2 separate regions of the Homo sapiens genome follow, and region 1 is linked to region 2. The links are contacts of gene promoters, found by promoter capture Hi-C in human tissues and cell types (Jung and others, 2019). All regions are on one chromosome and are shown on one strand. The core of a region is centred on a gene start or on the middle of the fragment in contact, and the rest is flanking DNA. Distances in the headings are between cores, read along the strand shown.

Evidence for each region. Contacts are between HindIII fragments. The study calls those that stand out against the background at their distance.
Region 1: a fragment that was not itself captured here is called in contact with the fragment with the promoter of RNF152 in region 2 in 2 of the 25 tissues and cell types used here (aorta and liver).

What each region holds. Positions count from the first base shown.
Region 1 is chr18:62,041,097-62,047,364 of GRCh38, reverse strand. PIGN (phosphatidylinositol glycan anchor biosynthesis class N) reads left to right here. Exons shown (of 31, transcript NM_176787.5): 31 at 1,386-6,201. The coding sequence ends at 1,509. Among named protein-coding and RNA genes, the nearest start is that of PIGN, 140 kb to the left of the region's middle. The HindIII fragment of the contact is 8,228 bases long and covers 1-6,268 here.
Region 2 is chr18:61,888,312-61,894,530 of GRCh38, reverse strand. RNF152 (ring finger protein 152) reads left to right here and starts at 1,524. Exons shown (of 2, transcript NM_173557.3): 1 at 1,524-1,736. RefSeq lists silencers at 1-118, 189-338. The HindIII fragment of the contact is 14,100 bases long and covers 1-6,219 here.

The DNA of each region.
Region 1 (6,268 bases), core at 2,309-4,808, 150 kb before region 2:
TGGAGGTGGAAGTCTAGGCTCCCCACGTGATGTCCACTGACATCCTCCAGGTATGGACAGAAGTACCAGCTTCCCTCCTCAGCCTTCCCTGACACCATGACAGTGGAGGGGAGGGCATAGCCGGGGAGTTAGAGTGCCCCATTATAGCCTGGTGAGGATGGAAGTCTGGGCTCCCCACTCAGCCTATGCTGGAATAGGTAGGGGTGGAGCCACATTTTTTCTGTGGTGTTTGGCTGAAGTAGATCAGTTAATATCTAAACATTTTCTGTCTTTCTGGCTGCCCCTTTCCTTGTCTGTCCCTTAGCTGCGAGCATAGGCTCTTGTGGTGGTGGTATTATTGTTTTTTGGGGATTTCTTTTTGGTCTGTGCCCAGTGGCATTTCCAGGTTGCTGCTGTCTTCCTGCAAAAGAAAATTCAGGAAATTCTTTGGGTCCCAAGATCACTGACCAGTTTGCCCTCTTTCCACCACCTGGAGTCGTCTTACGTTTGTTTATAGTGTCCAACATTTTTAGTTGTATAGTCAGCCCTCTGTATCCTTGGGTTCCACATCATGGATTCAGCCAGCTATAGGTTGAAAATATTTTTTTAATTGCATCTGTACTGAACATGTACAGACTTTCTATTCTTTCTATTATTCCCTAAACAATATAGTGTAACAATTATTTACATGGCATTTACATTTTATTAGGTATTGTAAATAATCTAGAGATGATCTAAAGAAGCAGTCCCCAACCTTTTTGGCATAAGGGAGTAGTTTCATGGAAGACAATTTTTCCACACGCCGCTGTGTATGTGGGGGTGAGGGATGGTTTCGGGATGAAACTGTTCCACCTCAGATCATCAGGCATTCGTTAGATTCTCATAAGAAGTGCACAACCTAGATCCCTTGCAAGCACAGTTCACGACAGGGTTCGTGCTCCTCTGAGAATCTAATGCTGCCGCTGATCTGACAGGAGGCGGAGCTCGGGCAGTAATGGTCACTGGTCCACCACTCACCTCCTGCTTTGCAGCCAGTTCCTAACAGGCCACAGACTGGTACCAGTCCACTGCCTGAGGTTTGGGGACCCCTGGTCTGAAGTATACAGGAGGATATACATAGCTTATATGCAAATACGGCACCATTTTATATCAGGGACTTGAGCATTCAAAGATTTGGGTATTCGTGGAAGGTCCTGGAACCAGTCCATGGACAGCTGTACTTGAAGGTCCTGGAACCAGATACCAACAGACAGCTGTACTTAGCAGGAGGAATAAGGTAAAGAACACCCACTCCAGCTCCTGAAAGTGGAGATTTTCATCTGTCCATTTAAAACCATTCAGAGGAATCTCATGATTTTCCTCACCTGTGTTCTCTCTGCCTGTAACATCTTTTTCTCCTTTTGCAGCATCAGCCACTATGTGATTGTCATGTCCATGACCATCTTTTTGGTGTTCCTCAATGGCCTGGCCCAGCTGCTCACAACGAAGAAACTCAGACTATGTGGCAAACCCAAAAGTCACTTCATGTGAGGTTGCTGAAGCACCATTCAGCATCTGGATCCTGATTCTCCTTTTAAGCTAAAATCTCATCAAGGCTTCAATAAGAAGATGGATATGGATATATAGTATATTCTACTCCTGTAAGGAAAATGGTATTTGGAATTCCGAATTGACAGGTTATCTGGAACAAAGGAGCTTCTTTTTTTTTCTAGGTTTTGCAGGCATGAAATAGTGATTATATCTGTGGAAAAGCATAGGAAGGCATTCTCCTTTTTCATTTTTTTCCTTTGGCTGGCAGCTCTTCCCAGTGATGTTGAGAGCACCTGCAGCAATCTGGTCCCCAGTCGCACAACTTCCCACATACCCAGAGGAGAGCATATGCCTGTGGGGGCAGTGCTGATGGCATCCAGAGTCATTGCTGTGGCTGAGCTGGAAGGAAATCACCAGGTGCCACCGTCAATATTTATCAGCTTTCAGCACTGGTTTTGTTAGACAGTCAGGGTGTATTATTTCAAGAGCTTCAATAAAAAAAGTGTTTGCAGGTATTTGTCATATTTCTTTAGTATGCAATAATGCTATCTTATCCTTTTTAGTGCTATTTCTCAGGTTTTCTCAGTCAACCAGCTAGATGCATGTGATGCATGTCTATCCTTCACTTTTTTTTTTTCATTTCTGGATTTTCCTGGGATTTCTGACAACACAAAAGTAGAAAGTGCTTGGTATTTCTGTCTTATACATAGGAAAACATTTAAAATAAATAGTTTTTAATTGTAGGCTCAACATCTGTTACCCCATAGCTTTTTCGTATATTGTTTCTTTCCCTTTGAATTTCTTTTTACTGTCATCTATTATTTTAACAGGAGTTAAAATAACTCCTGTTAAACTTTCTGACAATATCATAAGAATTCATATTAAAGGTGTTATTCTTTCTGGTTGTGAGATTCTAGCACAAAGGCCTAAAATCATCAAATTAGATTTCCATTTGTAAACAAATTCTAATGGGCAAAATATCTTGAGAGCAGTTTTTATATGGATTATCCATAAAATGACCTTTACATATCCCTGCAGAGTTGGCCTTTTGCCCGTGGTGTGCTAGTAGCTTTGGCTGATGCTAAGCTTTCCTGGTATGCGCCCTATTTTTAAGAAGTAATTGCTTTTGAATTAAGTTATAGCATTACTAATTCATGTTAATGACTAGGAAACCCTCTGTAATTTACAAGATTTTTCAAATTGGTGGGGAGTGAATAAATACAATTTAAAAGTCAGAAATCAGTTTGGCAAAGTGTACTTTCTTAATTTCTATTTATGATGAAGTATAGTCATAATTTATTTGTAATACTACTTTATGGTATACCAGTGAAAGAACTGTAGTATAAAAAAGAGGTATTAATGTTTTATGAAATCTCATGCATCAGTTCATAGCATAAAATCTAGCTGGACAACTAAGAAGCTATGGTAGCAAACAGTGATGTTGATGGAATGAGAATCATGAACTTTCATATTACCTCAAAGGATTTTTTTATCAGTTTTTTTCACACATCAGAAAAAACTGACTGTATAAACACTTATCACTGACCTTTTTCTATGTGTAGTTTTGCCTTTTATCTTTTCCCAAATTTTTATAAAGAGAAATTAATAAATATTTTATTACAACATTGTAAAGGGTGCTCAGTTTTTTTATCTTTCTTTATTTTGCTCTTTGAGGCATATCTTTTTCTTAATTTTGTCCTTTCAGGTCAGTGTGAGTCTGTAGAATAGGTTGAACTTCCTTCTGACAGTATCATAGAGTTTGTGGAGTTTGTGTTGTGTGCCTGCAGCCACAGGCTCGCCTTGCTGCACCGTAACTGGCCCCTTCAGACTCACATGGGAACAAGCCTTTTCTGTTGCAGTTTCCCAGATATCTTTAAATGTTTTGAAATGTATATTTTTATGTTGCAAAACAGAAAAAAGAAACGAGTTAGGGAAAAAGTATTTCTATTTAAGGTATTTATTTTTTCATTCTACCTATGCCATAGATTTCTGAATCAAGACTTAGGACATTTGCTGATTAACAATGTTTAAATTAGGAATTGTTATAAGAATTAAAATAGGCAGAACAAGTTGTGAAAATATTGAACCAAAAAAAGGCCATGCTATCATCTTAGAGGGCCCATGAATAAACCTTAGAGGGAATCCTAAGGCTTTAGGAAACCGCTGCAGCTTGTCTGTCATTTTCCAATATGTTAATTATTATACTTAGTGTACAGTATTTAGAATACAAAATGCTTTTTTATTTTTTAGGAAAATAATGTTATAAATGATTGTATATTTTCATAGTAATGTCTTTATAATTATTTATTAATGATAGAGCTGAATTAGAAAAGCTCTTCATCCATTATAATATGGTTTCTCATGAAAAACTTATTACAAATTTCAGCCAACTCAGATATTAAGAACATCAGTGTCAATCCTCCTCCCCTCCTGCGACCTTTTTACACTTGTTTTGGTGGACTAGGGGCTCCTTTTCTCCTCCTTTTTGACATATAACTGTGCCATTAAAAACATGATTTCTGATGAAGCTGGCCTAGAGGGAATGAAGGAGATTGCGTGGGTATGGTCTCTAGGACAGGCGTAGCTGTTGCAGGGCCACCCTGTCCTTGGGAGAACCTGGTGAGCTCCCATATTCACACTAGATGCCATCATGTCAGGGGGCTGAAGAGAATGGAGCTAATCAACTCTGTCATTTGGAGAAGACCCCCTTCAGACCAGTTCTGAGAACTCCTTCTTTTAAGAGACCAGAGATAACTTGATCATTTCTCACCTTTTCGTAGTTGTTCTTTTTTATGTTGACATTCCCCTTACTGTTTTTAAAATGCTTCAAAGCATTAATGATTGTTATGCTGTGTGCTTTCAGTACTATGGCAATATCTTTGTAGCATTTTCCCATTTCTGTATAAGCATGGTTTTTTGTTTTTTTTTTTTTCGTTTTTGTTTTGAGACAGGGTCTCACTCTTGTTCAGGCTAGAATGCAGTGGCACCATCTCAGCTCACTGCAACCTCTGCCTCCTGGGCTCAAGTGATCCTGCCACCTCAGCCTCCTGAGTAGCTGAGACTACAGGCACATGCCCCCACACCTAGCTAATTTTAAAATATTTTTTGATGGAGACAGGGTTTCACTATGTTTTCCAGGCAGCAGCATTTTTTTTTGACTGGGATTTCTTTATGATGCTTTGTTATTTAAAAAAAAAATGAGAAGGAAACATTAATAATCAAAATTATCTTTAATTGGCCTCACAGGGCTAAAATCTAGAATTATTATTACTCTTGGGTAAACTCATGAAAAGTACTTAATATTCATTCTATAAAGAAACAAAAAGAACCTTTGAGATGTGTCTCTTATTCATTTCCTTGGGTACACTTAAAACGGGTTACAGTTACTGCTCAACTTTCTACCTTCAGAACTGCAGCATTTATTTGCCACACAGCAGCATTTATCAGAGATTGTCCCTTAGAACATTGGTTCCTTGTAATACAAATAAATGTCATAATAAAAATAGTTTCTTTTTTCTTTCTTTCTTTTTTTTTCAAGACAGACTCTGGCTCTCTCGCCAAGGCTGGAATGCAGTGGCGCAATGTCAGCTCACTGCAAGCTCCGCCTCCCTGGTTCAAGCGATTCTTCTGCCTCAGCCTCCTGAGTAGCTGGGATTACAGGTGCCCACCACCACGTCTGGCTAATTTTCATATTTTTAGTACTGACAAGGTTTCACCATGTTTGTCAGGCTCATCTTGAACTCCTGACCTCAAGCAGTTCACCCGCCTCGGCCTCCCAAAGTGCTGGGATTACAGGCGTGAGCTGCCTCACCCAGCTGAAAAGAGTTTCTTAATTAAATATATTTGAGAAACATCTAGTCAAACCACCTTAAATAGGTATATTTACATTAGTTCTAAGGGAATTTAACTTGTGATGTACGTTGTGAAGGGAGGAAGATAGCATTATGCCAAAAGTTTCCACTAGCTTGACAGCAGACCCTGTCTTAGAGTTTTCTTCCTGATTGGTAAACATAAGAAATGTTTCCAAAGCCGGGCTTGGTGGCTCACCCCTGTAATTCCAGCACTTTGGGAGGCCGAGGTGGGTGGATCACTTGAGGTCAGGAGTTCGAGACCAGTCTGGCCAAGATGGCAAAACCCCATCTCTACTAAACACACACACACACACACACACACACACACACACACACACACACACACACACACACACACACACACCCGGCGGGGTGGTAGGCTCCTGTAATCCTTGCTACTCAGGAGCCTGAGGCATGAGAATTGCTTGAACCTGGGAGGTGGAATTTGCAATGAGCCGAGATGGTGCCACTCTGGGCGACAAAGTGAGACTCTGCCTCAAAAAGAAATGTCTCCATATAATTTTGCACTAAAACCTTAATTTGTCATAGTTTTGAAAATAGGGTGTTGTATGTTGATTGAATTTTTTTCCCTGAGAACTGGAATACCATTTTTACTTTAACCCTTAATGTGAGAAAACTTTACAATTTCCTGCAATTTTTCCTGCCTCTGTATATATTACACCTGTCATCATTTAGTCTTTCATGTGGGAAAGGCCAGTGGTACCAGATTGCATTCGGTTCATCATGGCTCATTGTCTAGCCCTGCTAGAGTATAGACTAAGCCTTCATACCTTATGTTTTATATCTTTTACCTGAAAAATAAATTTGCACCAAATTTCAACTTGTTTTCTTATGATTTGACAGTGTAGAAAGTGATTAGTAGTTAAATTTTTATAATGCTTTGTTAT
Region 2 (6,219 bases), core at 275-2,774:
AGGGGGTGGAGCCGCCGGGGAGGGCGGTGCCGCGGGGAGCGGAGCCCAGCCTCTCCCCCCACCCCCTTTGGTGCCGGAGTCTCAGTGACACAAAAAGCTCTCGCTCGGTGCCGAGCGCCTGGCGGCGGTGTCCGACCGCGAACGCGGAGGGCGGCCGGGCAGGTGGGGGTGCCGCCCGAAGGGCCGGGCCGGGTGCTGGGGCTGCAGGCGCCGCCGCCGCGCTGTCAGCGTCCGCCCCGTGGCTCTCGGCCGGAGGAGCGGCGGCCGCCGGCCCGGGGCGCGAGTCTGGCTGAAAGGAGCGGGCGCGCCGGGACCACCCGGCGATGCTGTCGCCGCCGCCGCCGCCTCTGTAGCGAGCACCCGAGCCCGCCGCGGAGAAAGGTCAGTGAGTTTCGGTTTGTTTCTCTGCTCTGCCGGCTCCGGATCGGGGGCGGACAGAGGGGTGCGCAGGGATGTCTGCGCCCCTACGGCGGCCGCGCCGAAGCCGTGGAAGCGGGAAAGGGCAGCTGCCGCCTGCTGTAACTGGGGAGATCTTCTGGACCGCGGAGGGGGTGGCGGGGCCGCAGGGTCCCGGGGAGGGGAGCGCGGGGTCTGGCGGGGCACGGGGGAGGTGGTCCCGGGAGTTGCGTGTCTCCTGAGAGCTGGCGGAGTTGGGCGGGCGGCCGCGGCGGGGAGCGGCGCTGTCGGCTGCTCGGCCGAGTCCTCGGATGCCCCCTGGAGCTCCGGTCCGAGGGAGCTTTCCTCGTGCCCGCGCCGCGCGCGCCCCTGGGTGTGCACGTGCGCGCGCGCCCGCCCCAGTTGCGCCCCCGGCCCGCACACACCCCGGCTCATCTTCTCCCGGTCCCCTTGTCTCGCGCCTTCTCCAGCCCTAGAAGTTGCCCCAGGGCCCCTCCCGGGATTAGAGAGCGCTGTGAAGGGCCAGATGTTGGGGGTCTTTTGTGCAGACACACGCGCCTGGGGCGCTTGCTCCTGGAAGGACAGCGGCAGGACAAAGCCAGCTGGACTCGTGGGGCGCTGCTCGGGAAGCGGCGGTCCCCAATCCCGCCTGGGGTCGGGGCATGGCTTGGGGAGCGCTGCCTGGGTCTGGAGAGAGTAGAGAAATCGCCAAAGCAGAGTGACGGTGACTTGATGAGGTGACGGTGACTTGATGAGGTGGCGGTGACTTGATGAGGTGGCGGACAGGGGCAAACGAAAGAAAGATGCTCGGGATTGCCGCGCTGTGTGCCTGTCTGCGCGGCTGACTAGGCGCCCCGCATTCCCATATGACCGGGTTACCTGGTAGATTTTGCCAGTGTGTCTTTGCCCCAAGATGTTATTCCCCACCTGCTCCGATTTCTTTCTTTCCTAGGGCTTACTGTTGCTAGTAGGCGCTCTGCCACCAGAGGGGAACTCGTGGGCGGGGGAGACTGCGGAGGAGGGGGGAGGTGGTTATTTATCCTGTAGAGACAATTAGGAGCCGTGACGCCCCCTTCTCGGCCGCCAGCCCTCCACACCTCATCTGCCTTGCTCCACCTCCCTAGTGCACCCGCTCCAGCCCCGTCTGCCCAGGAGGGCGCTTGGATTTCCTTCTCCGCGGCGCGTATCTAACCCTTCCTGCATGTATTTCACTGCAGGCTGAAGAAAGCTCAGTCTCAATTGTGTTTCCTGCCTGTCAGCCTCTTGCCTCCTAAACGTGTACCATTTCCACTTGATGTCATCACGCAGAAGGGGTGAAAGAGACTCGGTGACAGATACAGGTAACCCCCCACGATCTGGGTAGCGCCTGGGTGTCTCTGGGTCATTTGGGCCGACAGTGCTGGCACAGGGCTGTTTGGGTGGTTTCTGCATCAACATCGTTCCTATCTGTGAGAAGGTGTGGGGGCTGCTAAAACTCCTGGTTCAAAGAAATAAATTGCAAATGACTTTATACCTTCCCTTTGAAGAAGCCATTGGAGGTAGGTGCAGGGTGAATTTGGGATTGTAGAAATCCCACCTGGTTTCCTTTCATGGGAATTTTGATATAATTCATACACAGGCAGTTGTATCTGAATGTTAGGTTTCCATAGATGCCTGCTTTCTTATCTGTAGTAATAGATTTAGGCTTCAGTCTAGAGGTGGGGTATCCTTTGTTGAAAAGGTATCATTGGAAGGCTGATTGTACTTTTGCCCAGTGCTCTAATTGAGCACCGGTCAAATGCAGTGACCTTCGTATGAAATACTGTCTTTCTTCTGTTCCTTCATTGTAATAGTGTTTGCAATATTAAGAGAGACATGCTAGCAGTGAGTACTGGGAGGTGGAAGGGAGGGCTGTTGGGGGCAGCAGAAAGAGAACAGAGAAAACAGCTTGAGTGAAGTTTCCATTTAGATAGCCATGAACCAGTAGACTCTCATTCTGGATTTTATCTTTAGGTTATTGGGGCTTTTCCAAAAACTCTGGCCTGTTCTTTTCTTTCCAAGGATAGTTCTGTTTTGATGTCAGCCTAGCCAGATCTGGGGTTATCTTGATAAGAGTGCAATGAAAAAACGTAACCTTCAGACTTAGCAGGACACTCCGGCATTAGCATTTTCTGCTAGAGGGCAGAGTCCTGCGCATCCTACACTAGTAGCAGGGAATAAGAATGGTTATGGAAATGGGCTTTCGATTTTTCTTGTAGGAAGACAGATTGCTGAGGGCCAAAGGCTCCTGGTCTACTCTCTTTTACATTGCAGTAACACCTTGGTATCTGTGACAGATTCTCTCTTCACCATTTTCCTCCAAATCCCTTGAAAAATGAAGTTAAAAACTTGAAAGATTTATTATTCACCTCCAATGTAGTTTTGTTTTGGAAGGTGACTTTAAAAACATAGGTGACACTAGCATTTATCCTTCTACTACAAGCATTCAGGAGTCACTAGTAAAAGCAGTTGAGTTATCTAGTCCCAGGTGAAACAAAGGCCAGTGCTTTGCAAAGATCAGATGAGTAATGTGGTGCTAAGATAGAGGTATTTTTGACAAGTAATTTTTATGTCAGCAATAGTACAGGGTGTGTACTGTGTTGCTGCAAGAAGAAAAAACATGTGATGGGATAATAGGGAATGTAATAATGCAATAGAAACAAGGGTGTGGTTTTTTTTTTAATAGAAAGAATAAACACTTCGCACACAAAATTCCACATGGCAAAACAGTAGCCTGCCCATGTAAATGCACGTCCAAGAACAAAGATAGCCACAGTGCAGTGTTAGGTTTCATTGTGGTTTTAAATTGTGTACAGTAATAAATCATAATAAAGTGTCCATTGATGCTTAATTTTTTTTATATAAGAAGGAGGCTCCCCACCCTCAGATGTGTTTAGCTTTAGGCTGGAGGATCCCTAGAGGCTATTAGGCTGATCTCTGCCTCCAATGCCTGCTTCCTTTCTACAATGCTCATTTATTCATTTAGCAGATGTTTATTGGCACCTGATAGATAATGGACTCTGTGATAGATAATGGACTCAAGGGGTTGGGGTTGGGTGTAGGGGGAGACACAAAATTGAACTCCCTATAGGAAGACCTGATTCTAATTAACTTCAATGGAAGCTCAAGAGAGGTAGGATTGGACTTCTGGGGAGAGAAAATATGGTCATCCAGCCTCAACTTTAATGCCTCTTTCATTGAGGAGCTCACTGCTTCATAAATGGCTGTTGCTGTTGTCAGAAGGTGGCATTTTCATTGTAGTCTTTTTAGCTGAATTCCATACAGTTCGGTCCTTACATTGTTGAGGGTCATTCTGTTTTCATTTCTAATTCCCTCAGAGTTGTTTGAACCCACCTATGCTGTCAGCACCCTCTGCTTTTCAAGGTAGTGTTCAGTTCCTGATGAAGTTGAATTTTGAAACAAATGTTGCTTTTCCATATTATCTGATTTAGAAAACAGATTGATGGGATGCTTTTGCAGATTTTTCTCTTTTTTAAACAGTGACGTACCAGCAAGATAGGTGAGGTTATGCTGCAGTAACAAATACCTCCAAGTCTCCATAGCTAAATACAGTTTCTTTCCTTCCCATGCTGCATCCAGTGTGGTTGGCAGGTGGACCCTGCTCATCGTAGTCACTCAAGGACTCAAACTGATGGAGTCTTGGTCTTGATGTGAGCTTGCAAGATCATTGCAGCATCGGGAAGGAAATGCTGCAGGGTCTTGCTCTAGCAATTATGTGATCCTACCCAGAGGTGAGTTCCATCACTTTGGCCAGAACTGGGCATATGACCCTATTTAATCACAATTCAATATTTCTTGTGCTGAAAAAGGGAGAAGTGGATATGGGTGAGTAGCACTAGTGACTTCCACAGGGATCTGGTCTAGGTGAGGTTAGAAAGTGTGTCCTATGGGACCTAGCTCAGTGCTTGGTGGGTATTGGATGTCACAAGAGTATTGATTGAATCAACAACCTGTAATTTACAACCTGTATATTTACTATTCCAACCTGTAATTTACTAATATATGGTCCTACCCCCACCTGTAATGTACTACTAATATGTTGATATGGTATTTACTAACATGGTTGTACACTGGTCATCAAATAAAATAATTATAATCCTCTCTTTGCCTATTTCAAGTGCATGTTTACTCTGAAGTGAAAGGCCATTAGGTATTTTCAAGGCTGATTCTAGGAGGTTGTGAGCTTAGCATTATGTAATAGAGAGGTGTTACTTACAGACTTTCTCTTCCTCACCATCTGCCTCTTGTTTAAGGCTTCCTGAGTTTGTTTGGAACCGCCCAGGGTAGAAAAAGAGTGGCAATGGGCCTAGGGCCACCCAGGAGGTGGCCTCCTGCAGCAGAGACCACAGGGCAACAGATAAGATCTGAAGGGGGCAGGAATGTGTTTAGGGTAACCTTGGGTCACCCTTTTGTTACTTTGATGTTTAGAAAAAGCAATTTGGGCAAGAGGCTTTTTCTGGTCACAGGACTAGTAGAACACCCAGAGAGTTTAGGGACATTTGTGCTTCCATCAGCAACTGTATTGACTAGGAGGGTGGTGAGTTCTAAAGCCTTCCTTGCCTCACTCTCCCTAAAAAGAGTTGGATGCTATGGAATAGGCATTGCAAGGTGCTCTGGATTCAGCAGTTGGTGGCTTGCAGAGATTTTGCTTTGGGAAGAGCTGTTCACTCATATATCTTTGTTCACATTGTGATAACGGCATGCACGGGTGAGCCATTTTAAAGATTTGATAAATACCTTAAGCATAAGTGTAGAATTTAACAAAATAATATTGCTTTTGGTTCAGTAATCACCTTGGCAAAGTCATTTTTATAAAGATAGCTCTCCAAATAAGGAAGTGGTGTGGTAAACTATGTTAGTCTCCAAGTCACAGTGACTGAGGGGATATCAGTATCAACCTAGGGAGGTTGAGACCACCCGGCTTCATTCAAGTGATAAGATGTAGCACCCAAAGCGTTTCTGAATTGGGAGATGAGCAGCTTGGAGACCAGCAGGAAGAACCAGATATAGACCATCCAAAAACCCATTCAGGGTGCCTGGGGTTGGGCTGAGGGCCAGGCACAGACTGAGGGAGAAGGAAAATGAAAGCCCCGAGGGACTAGTCTTGAACTATATTTGGGAAGCCCCAAAATGCATTTCTATATTTTCTCTGGCCTCTGGGTCCCTACCACTTTAATTTCATACCCAAGTCGGCTGGTCAGGTAGAGGACTCTTGTGGCATGAAAGTGGTTTCTGGCACTGCCCATTGTGACGTCATGGAAACCGGAAAGGAAGAAGGTGTTGGTTTTCCTGCTTCTTTTCCCATGGCTTCGAGAGTTACACTGTGTGATCCAGCAGTCTGACTCCATGATTGAAATCACAATTGGGATAAAGTTGGTAGAGATGCTTCTTAATTTACAGTGGGGTTATATCCTCATAAACCCCTCATAAGTTAAAAATATTGTAAGTGGAAAATGCATTTAATACACCTACTGACATCATAGCTCAGCCTTGTCTGCCTTAACTGTGCCCAGAAATGCGCATTAGCCTACAATGGGGGCAAAATCATGTAACAAGAAGCCTATTTTGTATTAAAGCATCAAATATCTCATGTAGTTTATTGAATACTGTATTGAAAGTGAAAAACAGATTGGTCGTATAGGCACTCAAAGTACGGTTTCTACTGAATGTGTATTGTTTTCACACCATTGTAAAGTCAAAAAATCAAAGGTCATAGGTCAAACAGTTGTAAGTAGGGAACCGTCTGTGCTTGTTACATGCTTAGGGATTTTCAATTTCTAATTG